Regions from separate parts of the Homo sapiens genome. Here all the other regions are linked to region 2. The links are contacts of gene promoters, found by promoter capture Hi-C in human tissues and cell types (Jung and others, 2019). All regions are on one chromosome and are shown on one strand. The core of a region is centred on a gene start or on the middle of the fragment in contact, and the rest is flanking DNA. Distances in the headings are between cores, read along the strand shown. Region 1 overlaps C4orf50 (chromosome 4 open reading frame 50). Region 2 holds the start of CRMP1 (collapsin response mediator protein 1). Region 3 overlaps C4orf50 (chromosome 4 open reading frame 50).

Region 1 (3,775 bases), core at 1,138-3,637, 85 kb after region 2:
CTTTTTCTGAAGTTCTTCAAGCTGAAATAAAAGCGACATTTTTGACAACACTGCACTGTCACTTACCACTGTCCAGAGCTTCCCCAGGCAAGCTGGGCTCAGAACAGCTGGCAGTTGCCTGCCCTCTTTACCCTCATGGGGACTCAGTGCCAGGAACAGGGGCCTTTCCCACCACCTGCCTGGCAGGATCAGGGGAGGACAGATATTCTGAATACTCAAGAATCAGCTTGGCCGGGCGCAGTGACCCACGCCTGTAATCCCAGCACTTTGGGAGGCCGAGGTGGGCGGATCACGAGGTCAGGAGATCGAGACCATCCTGGCTAACACAGTGAAACCCCATCTCTACTAAAAAAAAAAATACAAAAAAAAAAATTAGCCAGGTGTGGTGGTGGGCACCTGTAGTCCCAGCTACTCAGGAGGCTGAGGCAGGAGAACGGCGTAAACCCAGGAGGCGGAGCTTGCAGTGAGCCGAGATTGCGCCACTGCGCTCCAGCCTGGGCGAGAGAGCGAGGCTCTGTCTCGGAAAAAAAAAAAAAAAAAAAAAAAAAGAATCAGCTCTGCCCAGCTGCAGTGGCTGGGGCCAGCTCCAAGCCCTCTTCTGAGTCTCCAGGCAGCCTGGCAGTTTTCTGGTCTTGTGGTAAACATACAAGTTCCTGAGCCAGACAGCAGGGGTCCTAATCCCGGCTCAGCCAGTCGCTGGAACTGAGATCTTGTGCAAGACACTCTCTGCCTCAGTCTTCTCATCTGTGAAGGGGGCTCATAGGAGTGCCCACCCACTGGTGAGAACTGTAGTGAGGATTCAGTGAACCTATCCATGTAAAGTGCTTAGAACAAGCCCTGGCACCTGTCAGTGATCAATAAACTAATGTTACTATTAGGCGCAGATGAAAGCTGGACACAGATTCTTTGAGACTGCTCCCCATGGAGGGGGTTCCTATCACCTTCCCTCAGATCTGGGCTGGCCTGAGATGCCTTGACTCATAGAATGCAGTGGAAGTGGCCCTGAGGCCTTTGTGGGCCTGGCACTGAATAGGACTGGCAGCTTCCACTTTGGGTCTCTTCTGTTTCTGAGCCAGGATTTAAGAATTCCAGGTGCCCTCTGGGGAGACCGTGAGACATGACAGAAAAAAGGGAAGGCACCAGCGGGAGCTGCCTTCCGCCACCCTGCAGAGGGGGCAGGATGTGAGTGAGGCCGCCGGGGACCCCCCAGCCGAGACTGGCATCCAGCCGGATGCCACTGAGTCATGCCCACTGATCCCCTGGAGGGCGGAACAGCCTAGCCGAGTCCTATCTGAATTCTGGACCCATAAGATACAACAAAACAGGTGTTGTGTGAGTTCTTCTAACTCTCTCAGTCCCTTTGCAGTCAGTTAAAAAAATCAAATAAAAAGCCGCAAGCCTCTTCCTCACCCCCAAACTCTTCGGACCAACATACCTATATGGATCAGAATGTGTGTATATGAAATTATACTGTGCAAAAGGTCTTGCATCTTGCTTCATAATTAAATAATATGCAAGATTTTAAAAGAATGAGATCACTTTGTATGTGATACAAAAATTTTGATGGTATTTTCATATTAACACATAGAAACTGACCTCATTCTTTTAAAAGCTTGCATGTTATTTAATTACAAAGTCAAAACAAAATTGATTTAACCAGTTCCTTGTTTATGGAAATTTATCTTAGTTCTGTTTCTTTGTTTTACAAAGAAGATTTCAATGCATATTTCCATATATCTGTTTTGGCACAGCATTCCTAACGTATTCAAAGAGTAAAATTCCAGCCTTAAGCAGACTGTCTTACATTCAAAAAGCACTCAATCATATTTGCAGCCTTGGATTAAACCTTCTGTCTGCTTCAGTTTAGGAAATAACATAAATATGCCACAGTGAGATAAGTATTGGGCATTTGCAATCAAAAAGTGAACAAGAAGAAATTAAAAAGATAACCTACAGAATTGGAGGAAATATTTGCAAATCATATATCTAATAAAGGACTTCTATCTAGAACATAAAAGGAACTCTCACAACTCAACAAAAAGAGAGTCAATTAACCCTATTAGAAAAATGGGAAGAATCTGAATAAACTCTTCTTCAAATACGACATACAAATGACCCACAAGCACGTGAAAAGATGTTCCACATTATTAGCCATCAGAAAATACAGCTCAAAACCAATGAGAGACAATCTCCCACTAACTAGGATGTCTATGATAGAAAAGACAGCTAGTAGCAAATGTTAGTGAGAATGAGAAGTTGGAACCTTCCTACACTGCTGGTGAGAACATAAAATGAAGTTATCAGAGACACTCTTCCTCTTTAAAGCAACTGCGATAGAGATGTTCAGGAATTACATTACAAAAATTTCATCATAAAACTGAGAACTATAAAAAAAAGAATCATAGGGAAATTCTCCACCTGCAAAATAGACTAACTGAAATTAAGAACTAAAGTGAGTTTAGGAGCAAATTAGATTCATCCAAAGAGTACTATTTAGCTGGAAGAGAGATTCAAAGGAAATATTGAAACTGAGCAGAAAGAAAAAAGAATGAAAATAATTTCAAATATACTTAAAGTCTAATTCATGTGTAACTGAAGTTTCCACACACACCCCCTCCCCACAGGCCAGTGACAGATAAGAGAAAAAAGCAATACTAGCTCTTGTGTTGGTTGAAGACACGGTGAACGAGACACACTCATTTATTGTTGGTGGCATGGAAGTGGATACCACTACTTTGGAAAGCAATTTGTGATATATAGCTAAGAATCAACAATATTGCCACCTTTGGAGCCAGTAGTCCCAGCTCTCTGAACTGTTATATATAAACAGTTATGTGTAAGTTCATAGAAATGCTCTAGATGCAACAATTGGGGAATAGTTAAGGAAACCACATCCACCCAATAGATTACTACACAAACAATCATAGATTACCACACAGTCAAATAATCATATGTATGAGGACTATGCAGCCACATGGGCAAATGAACATAAAACTCTACATATAACATGCTTTGATCTTACAAAGAACACATGGGAGAAGAGCTGGAAATTATACCGTAATGCTGAGGCTGTATTTTTCATCCATTGACTTGTCCAACAATTGTAAAGTTGCTAACATTCAGGATAACGAGTTATGGGCAAATGAGTAGACTTGTTTCTTCTTAGTGGGAGTATAAATGATGCTATCATTTTGGAGGGTTACTTGCCATTACCTATCACAGTTAATGATTTATATATCCTTTCTTTTGCTAGAAATTTGCCATTTAGATATACAGCAGAAGTATATGCCGAGAGAGAAATAAAAATGTTCATTGGAGCTGTGTTTGTAATGCAAAGAAATGGAAACAACTTGAATTTCCACAAACAGAAAAATTGATTAAATAAGTTATGATTTGGCCTCATGATGACATAATACACACGATTTTAAAGGAATGAGTTCACTTTGCATGTGTTGATATGAAAATGCCACAAGATTCTTAATTAAATGACAAAATGAAGATGCAGCATGGTTTTGTACAGTATAATTTCAAACATGTACACATACACACACATTCAGAAAGTGGGTGGTAGAGTTGAAAAAATATTGGAAGTCAGAAAATGTTAAGGTTGAGGAGAAGGAAAGCTTTTATATTTTAGATGATTAAGATTTGCAGACAGTTGTAAGAAATAATACAGAGCCCTCTTGTACATGTTTTTTAGAGACAGGGTCTTGCTCTGTCACCTGGGCTGGAGTGTACCTTGAACATTTTGCCCGGTTTCCCCCAGTGGGAATAT
Region 2 (4,065 bases), core at 403-2,902:
GGAAGGTTTAATTAAAATGATAATGATTGTAATAAAAGTCAACAACAAACATTTATTGAATGCTCACTACCGACCGGCATTAACTGATTTAATTCTCACAATGAATCCGTCGCTCACCCTAGCCTGGGAACTTCTGGAGGGTGGGGCCAGGTTGCTGAGCCAGGGACCTAGCGCCTACCCTGGGCCTGGCACCTAGCAGTTCTCCGGCATCCAGGTCTGGACCAATTCGAAAGCTCCCCAGCCCTCGGATGCTCCAACTTCCGTTTTTCTGGCACCTGACCCTGGCTCTCGTCGGTCCATCCAAAGGCTACGCCGTCCATCCGCCCTTCTTCCCCCAGTTTCCTGGTGACCCCCAGCTCAAGAGAGAATACCCGCAGGGCCCAAGCCCTAGCGTTCCCTCTCCCTGATCCTCCCGGCCCCATGCTCAGGTCCGGGAGGCCAGAGACCCCAGTTCAAATCCCAGCTCTACCTCCACCTTGCTCTGTGAAGCAGGCACATCGGTGTGTGCTGTGGAGCTCAGGAGTGCCCCTTGAATCTACTGGCGCTTGAGGGTAGGGGTTTACGGCTCCAACTGCCCGACGAACTAAATCCTTAACCAAATCCTTCCCCCCAGCAAGCATGAGGGGAGCGCTCGGAAAAAAAGCTCCTTCCAGCTTTAAGCTGTGTGGCCGCAGGCGACTCGCGGAACCTCTCCCGGGGCCCGGCACACAGTAGGTGCTCTATAATTACTACCGACTGAGTGGATGGATGAATGGACCAACACGGAACGGAGCTCCAGTTCTTTTCACAAAACAGAATGAGGGGCCTGGGTTAGATTCATCCCAGAGGTTCCTTCGCGTTTAAGCGTCCATGCGGTAGCTTTAGCCAACTTCCCCTCTCAGAACCTCTCTCCCTTTCTGTAGAAGAGGAGCCGGGACTGGACCCGGGCGATCCCTTCCGAGTCTCACGGACCACGCCGGCCAGCCCCGACCGAGTCGCCCCAGCTCTGGGAACCTCTTGCATGATGAGGTGGGGGAGGGGCCGCGCCGTGGCTCTCCCCAGCCTGGCGGCCGCTGCCCCAACACCGGGGCCCGGGCATGGCCCTCGGGCGCCCCATGCCCTGGGTCCTCCCGGGGCCCGCCCCCCTCGTCTGGCCCGCGCGCGCCCCGAGGGTACCTGGCCATTGTCCCGGCCGAGGGGCAGGTCGCGGGGCGCGGGGCGGCGGATGCGCAGCGTCGGCGGCCGCTCGTCGCGCTCTCCGGGAGAGCTGACCGCGGAGCCCGAGGGCTCGCTCACGTCGCTGGCCGTGTCCTCGCTGCCTCCCGGCCCTGGCAGCCCGACCGCGTCGGGCCGGCCAGCGCTGCGCGGCGTGCGCGCCGAGCCGCGGCGGCCCACACTGTAGGCGTCGAAGTCGATGGTCTTGTTCTCGTAGGCGCCCTCCACCGCGGCGAACATGCCGCCGTACTTCTGGCGCGGGGTCTGCGCCGCGCTGCCCGGCCGCGCCAGGTACACGGGCAGGTCGTCCTCGGTGTTCCACGCGCGCCGCCGGTCCGCCATACCCGTCCAAGGCCGGCCACCCACCGCGCTCCCGCCTGCCCGCCCGCGGCCCTGGGCACCGCCGTGCGCCGCGCTCCGCGCCTCGGTGCGGGCCTGCGGCGGCCCGGGCGCGACTGCGGCCCAGGGAGGGGAGGGGCGGGGCGTGGCGCGCGCCGGGGCGGGGCCGGGGCGGGGCCTCTGGGCGGCTGCGGGCTAGCGGCGCGGCCAGCTACAAAGGACCAGGAGGCGGGGATCGCGGCTGGGGCGGGGAGGGACGGTGACGCTCCCGAGCCGCAGCGCGGAGGGCGGGCCGCGGCACCGCAGTGCCCTCGCCGCACCCCCCACTCTCCGCCCCCAGGCGGAGCGCAGGGCGCGAGGAGAGCGCGGGGCAGGAGCCGTGTGCGTACACTCGCGCGCCCACACGCTCTGGAGGCACACGCGGGTTCATACCTGCACACCAGACAATTACGCCAAACACATGAGAGATGCACAGACATGCTGGCACACACACGAGAGTCAATCACACATGCTCTCCAGAGATACACAGGGGCTCGATCATGCACACCATACTCAATGTTGCACACACATACACATATATGCTTGTGCACATTCCGAGTTCATTACAAACACACAACAGAAATCCTCATTGTCTCACAACCCCACTCACACACAGTATCACACCAAGATTAATTGCACAACTGGAGAGGCACATGCGTTGGACACACCGTTCATTCCGTCAGTTTTATTTTGCTGAGCGCCCACTAGTGCCTAGCACTGTTGTAGGAGCTGGGAACAGAGCCATGGACAAAAGAGACCAAGTGCCTGCCCTCCAGGAGCTGACCTGCTAAGGAGGGGAATTGGATACAAAAGCACCCATATGGTGGGCCAAGAGGTGGTAAGGGCCAGGAAAGGTGGTGCAGCAGCCAAGAGGGACATGCTAGAGGCACACTCCGACAGACACATAAGAGAAGCACATTCTTGCATGAGAATCAGCGACACACACATACACGTGCACGCCAATGACACCACACAACACACCAATATCAAAGGCAAGCTCAGGGCGATTCCACACATGTGCATCATAAACTGGCAACAGGATGCCCACACACAAGTCCACACCAGTAATAAAGGAAGTCAAAAGCTTAAATAAAAACGCTCCAGAGAAAGACACACAGAGACAGAGATGACCACACACACACAGCTGGCAGTCAACCAGACAGACAGATATTCCCTCATTCGAGGGGCACAGTCCACTTTTGTTGCTCCTGGAGCTTGCAGTCTGGGCGTTCTGGGGTTTCTCTGTCGTGGAGGTCGCTCTGCTGGGGCTCTCCTCTAAGGCCAGGCACCACCTGCCTCCTATAGACACCTTCCCTTATTTCTCCACGATTATCAGGCAGAGGATCCTGCAAGTCCCTGGGGACCCTACAGTCCCAGCTGCACTTCCTGGAGAGGCAGAATCGCCAGCTGCCGACCCCCTCCTCGAGCCAGTCTAGACAAGCAAAGTCAGGACTGGGTGGGGACTGCAGAGGGGAGCATCAGTGCTTCTTGCAATGTCCCCCCACCCATAGCCTTCCATGCTGGGAGCTGTCCCTTCAACCCCGGGCCCTGCCAGCTGCAAGCCAGAGCTCCCGCAGCGTGACCAAGCTCCAGGAATACCAGACAGACAGATGGATTCATGTTCTTGTTTTATGACTCTTGGGCCCCATGGACTGAGGATCCTGGGGCCGTCGGATCCGTGGCCTCAGCTGACACCTCCCTGAAGCTACTGTCTTTCAACCCTGCAACAAGGGGTCTGTGCAGCAGGTAGGTATTTTTACCGGCCCCCTCTTGGAAGAGGAAACAGGAGGGGAGATGTGAAATGGCTCCCTCAGGGCCTCAATCTCAAGGAGGTTCAGCCAGGCCTAGAGCGTGGGCTCATCCACTCGGTGGGCATTTAGCAAGTTATTTTTCTGTGCTTGAGAGAGAGGCTAGTGTGGGGACACAGATGAGTATTTCTAAGTCTCTGTCTTCAACAAGTGTTTACTCTCATGGGGGAGAGAGTGCTGAATGCGAGAACAGAAAGTTCCACACACAGCCTCCATCTACCTTCCACCCACCGCAGCTGCATCCTGGCTCCTCTCTCCTTGTGTCCCTGGGTCCACTGTGCAGATTTGCCACAGACACTCCTCTTGAGGCCCATCAGCCTCCAGGCTATCTTGCAAGTGTTTTCGATTTTTCAATGAAAATTTTTCTCTGTCCTGTGAAATACTATTCCCAGCCCATTCCAGGCAAGAACAATTCATGTCGAAAACCACATAGAAATTTCTTCTAAAACCCCACAAATGTTCAGGGTGACATAACCCAGAGAAATATCAGAAAACTCAAAAGTCTGAGTTAGGTGGAACTTTGGAGGCCAGGCCTCCTACTGCATGCTTGAATCTGCTCTCAACATCTTGAGGACACAGTCTCTCAGGCTTTGTTGGTGGTGATGGAAATCTTACTGCTTCTAAAGAAAACCCTTTCCATTGTGAGAAAGGGCTGGGCAGTTGCCAAGACTAGAGGGAGTGACGC
Region 3 (3,891 bases), core at 1,266-3,765, 67 kb after region 2:
CCGGGTTTCTGTCCTCTCTCTGTCATGTTCCTGATGCTCAAAGCTAATGACATTGTCCCAAAATACAGAGGGAGGCAGAAGGCGGATCACCAAACCAGTGCTGCAGGTCACTTCCTGCTTGGAAATTATAGGGAAGCCCTGGGGTGGTTGAACCAACAAAGGGATCACCGCAGTGGTTTCCAATCTGGGGATTCTTGAGGGGTGGTAACGGGGCCACAGGGTCTCCAGGGGGGTCCCTGAAAACCTAGGTGGACAGCATCATCTTCACTTCTTCCCCAGCAGCATCCAGCCAGACACTCGCACAGCAGTCACTAAATGCATATTGAATAAATAAATAAATAGACAGATCTGTGGGTAAATCAATCCAGGAATACATGGATGAATGTGCTAACCCATCAGAAAACCCCATAAACGAATTTAAAGGGTGGAACTCAATGTGCTGAGGCTGCCTTTCTTACGTCTCAATGGCTCCCCAATTTTCCTCGAAATAAAACCCACTAGTTTCTATAATTGTACAACATAAGTCACATGAGATGTTAACATCAAGGGAAGCCCGGGGAAGAGTCTACGGGAACTCTGTGTAATTTTCATTTCAAACAAAAAGCTAAACTACGTTAAAATAAATCTATACACTTTGACACTTCCTGGGGAGCCGTCAGTTCCTTGTCCTTGTCCTTGTTTGTCCTTCCATGAAGGGACAGTCACTTCCAGGAGAGGACAGAATTGGACAGGTAGCGGCTTTGGCCTTTCCCTTAAGCCCCTCCTCAGCCCCTTCCCAAAGAGAGAGGTGACATCTCTGGTGGGTGAGCCTGGGTCAGGGTCTGGTGTGTGTCGTCCAAGCCCCCTAGACTCTCTTTTTGGGGGGCTGCCCTCAGGATAGAAGTGCTCTTCTCCTGGGTCGCCCACCTGATTCGGGGCACGAGTCTCTGTTCTCGGTGGAAGGAAGGGGTGCTGGATGGGAACGATGCAGTGACTGCTTGCAGCTGGCTTGACAAGAGCATGCTTTGCCCACTTCCCCTCCAGGGGCACATCCACAGTTCAGTTTTATGCCTCAGGGCCTTTGCACATGCGTTCCCTCGTACAGCAGCACCCTTCCCACCTCACCCACCGGACACTGCCCAGCCATTCCTTTGTGGCTGACTTCCAGTTGTCCCAAGCCAAGTAGAACGGACCCTTACCTTCATCCCGTTGCTCAGGGCACATGTGACACTTGCGTGCGTGCTGATTTACTCACAGGAGTATCTCTCCCATTGTCCTGTGAGGTCCCCGGCGCCAGGATCAACATTGACTTGTCTCTTCTCCTTCATGCCACATTGCCTGGCATCCAGTGGATATCAACAGACGTTTTTGGAGTGGATGGACTGATTAGAAAGTTCTGGTTAGTTTTAATGTTTTTAAATGTAAAATATATGGTGACTTAGGCGTTTCACTTAGTAGACAAAAAATCTTTTAAAACATGGGAAGGACCCCGGGGGCAGAGAAAAAACAAAACAAAACAATTCTCCATGGCTGATCTTGTTGGGAGCTATGAGATCCGTCCTGGACTCTCGACCTCAGCACTGGCGACCCTCGGGCTGTAATTCTTTGCTGTAGGAGGCTGGCCTGGGTATTGTAGGACATTTCATAGCATCCCTGGCCTCTACCCACCAGATGCCAGTAGCAGTGTCCCAGCTGTGACAACCAAAAATGTCTCCAGACATGGCCAGATTTTCCCTGGGGGGCTAAAACTGTGCCCAGTTGAGAACCTCTGGACCAATCATTCAATAGGTTTTGGTACAGTAAATATTTCCTATGCTGCCTTGACATTGCCAAAGCCAAACTCCTCAGAATTTGCCAGGCACAGGCCAGCGTTTCTCTCAAGCTCTGACAATGAACACAAAATCCCAAAGCCGAAGGCAAAACCACTTGCCACTAAATGAGGGCTCTGATTGCTACCAATTTCTTAAAGCACTCTCTGAAGGTTCTGCTTCAAATATTTATGGAGTCTATGAAATGGCTCCGGAGAATGAGTGGCCCTATTACATTTCTAACTCCAGCGGTGATTTATGGACCTGGGAATTGCTGCAAATGCTTTGTCTAAGCTCTTGGTGAAAAGCCAGGATCCTTGCTGGGCTCAGGAGCTCAGAGGGTGCTGGGACGTTATCGACTTGGAGGGCAGGACAGGGCATTCCGCCTTTTTCTTGCAGACGTTGTGCGGGGAGACCTGGTTCCACAGTGACCGCTGCCAGGCACGTTCCAGGATCAAGCGTGGACACCAAGGACAGAGGGAGCTGCAGGCAAGAGGACAATGAAATGGTCTCTGCGTCCACATGTTTGTAAAAGCCCCTCCATTCACACATTTAATCAAAGGAAGAGATGACAGTGATAGCTAACGGTTTCGGGGCACTTTCTGTGCCTGGCACCAAATACTCCTCACACATTGGCTCACTTCCTTTGGTGACAGTTCAGTGAGACACATGCTGTCATCACTGCGTTCTGGGTCAGAAAATGAGATTGGGGCAGCGTGAGGCTCCCTCTCCACGTCATGTGGCAGGTGCCTGACAATACAGTCATGAGCGGGCGTTCCTGTAGAGTGGATATCCTCTATAAATTTTCTCCTTCCCGGTGATAAGAGAAAGTGACCTTCCCTTGAAAGGGGAAGTCATGTCTTGCTGGTTGCAAACCTCATGCCCAGCACATCTCAGGGCTTTCCCCAAATGTGCCATCTTACTTGCCTTCACTTAGTTCCTGCAACAAGCTATCATCAGGCCCACTTTATAGATGAAAACCCACTTAACAGTTTAAGAGATTCTAAATGCCTTCATTAAATGTATTAGCTCTGAAGTGGCTTCGACTTCAAAGCCAAGCCCATCTGATTTCAAACCTCCACTCTTTCTACGTCTCCTTTCCAGTCACTATTGTACCTGTGATCCCTTCACGACCAACATCTCACACCTCTCAGGCACCTTCCCGCAAATGACAGGCAGGACTGCCTCACCAGGTAACATGTGAGTCCTGCTAATGCCTCTTCTCCCTCCTCTAAAGGGTGTGGCAGGTGTGTCAGTGCCTTGCCAGACAGATGAGCAGAATGGAGCCGACTTCTCCACCAGTTCCAGGAGGCAAGAGCAGCCGCAGGTTTGCAATGAGCAGGGCCTTTTGCCTCACTGGTGGAAGACGGCTGAAAAAGAGGCTGGACAGCAGAGGCAGGGAATCGGCGATCACTATGTGCCAAGCCTGACCTTGTCCCTGCCCTCAGAGCACTTCCAATCCAGTGGGAGAGGCAGACACATAAACTCAATATTATGCTGCAGGGTTCAAGCCCGAAGAGAGACCCACACAGGTGCTGATGAAGCCTCCAGGACGGAAGTACTGACTGCACACTGAGGAGCTGGGAAGGCCTCATGGAGGCAGTGTCTGAGCTCGGCTTTTGGGGAGGAGCAGGGTTCTGTTATGTGTTTAAAACGCAAGGTCATTCTGGGCTGACTAATGTGCGCATCAGGAGTCTGGACTCCATCTTATAATAATAATAATGATAGTCGGCCTGGCTCATGCCTGTAATCCCAGCACTTTGGGAGGCTGAGGTGGGTGGCTCACCTGAGGTCAGGAGTTCGAGACCAGCCTGGCCAACATGGTAAAACCCTGTTTATACTAAAGCCGCTACCTGTCCAATTCTGTCCCCTCCTGGAAGTGGCTGTCTCTTCATGGAAGGACAAACAAGGACAAGGACAAGGAACTGAGGGCTCCCCAGGAAGTGTCACAATGCATAGATTTATTTTAACGTAGTTTAGCTTTTTGTTTTGAAATGAATGTCTCTACTAAAAATACAAAAATTAGCTAGGTGTGGTGGTGCACACCTGTAATCTCAGCTACTCAAAAGGCTGAGGCGGGAGAATCGCTCAAACCTGGGAGGCA

Evidence for each region. The method cuts DNA at HindIII sites, captures the fragments that hold promoters and counts their contacts. A contact is called where the count stands out against the background at its distance.
Region 1: a contact is called between a fragment that was not itself captured here and the fragment with the promoter of CRMP1 in region 2, in 3 of the 25 tissues and cell types used here (H1 embryonic stem cells, hippocampus and mesendoderm cells).
Region 3: a contact is called between a fragment that was not itself captured here and the fragment with the promoter of CRMP1 in region 2, in 2 of the 25 tissues and cell types used here (H1 embryonic stem cells and IMR-90 fibroblasts).

The regions. Positions count from the first base shown.
Region 1 is chr4:5,975,935-5,979,709 of GRCh38, forward strand. It overlaps C4orf50 (chromosome 4 open reading frame 50), which reads right to left. Exons shown (of 12, transcript NM_001364689.3): 8 at 1-21. Among named protein-coding and RNA genes, the nearest start is that of C4orf50, 41 kb to the right of the region's middle. The HindIII fragment of the contact is 5,714 bases long and covers 1-3,775 here.
Region 2 is chr4:5,891,434-5,895,498 of GRCh38, forward strand. It overlaps CRMP1 (collapsin response mediator protein 1), which reads right to left and starts at 1,653. Exons shown (of 14, transcript NM_001014809.3): 1 at 1,156-1,653. The coding sequence starts at 1,536. RefSeq lists an enhancer at 1-258. The HindIII fragment of the contact is 12,427 bases long and covers 1-4,065 here.
Region 3 is chr4:5,957,357-5,961,247 of GRCh38, forward strand. It overlaps C4orf50 (chromosome 4 open reading frame 50), which reads right to left. Exons shown (of 12, transcript NM_001364689.3): 12 at 2,019-2,270. The coding sequence ends at 2,019. Among named protein-coding and RNA genes, the nearest start is that of MIR378D1, 36 kb to the left of the region's middle. The HindIII fragment of the contact is 6,092 bases long and covers 1-3,891 here.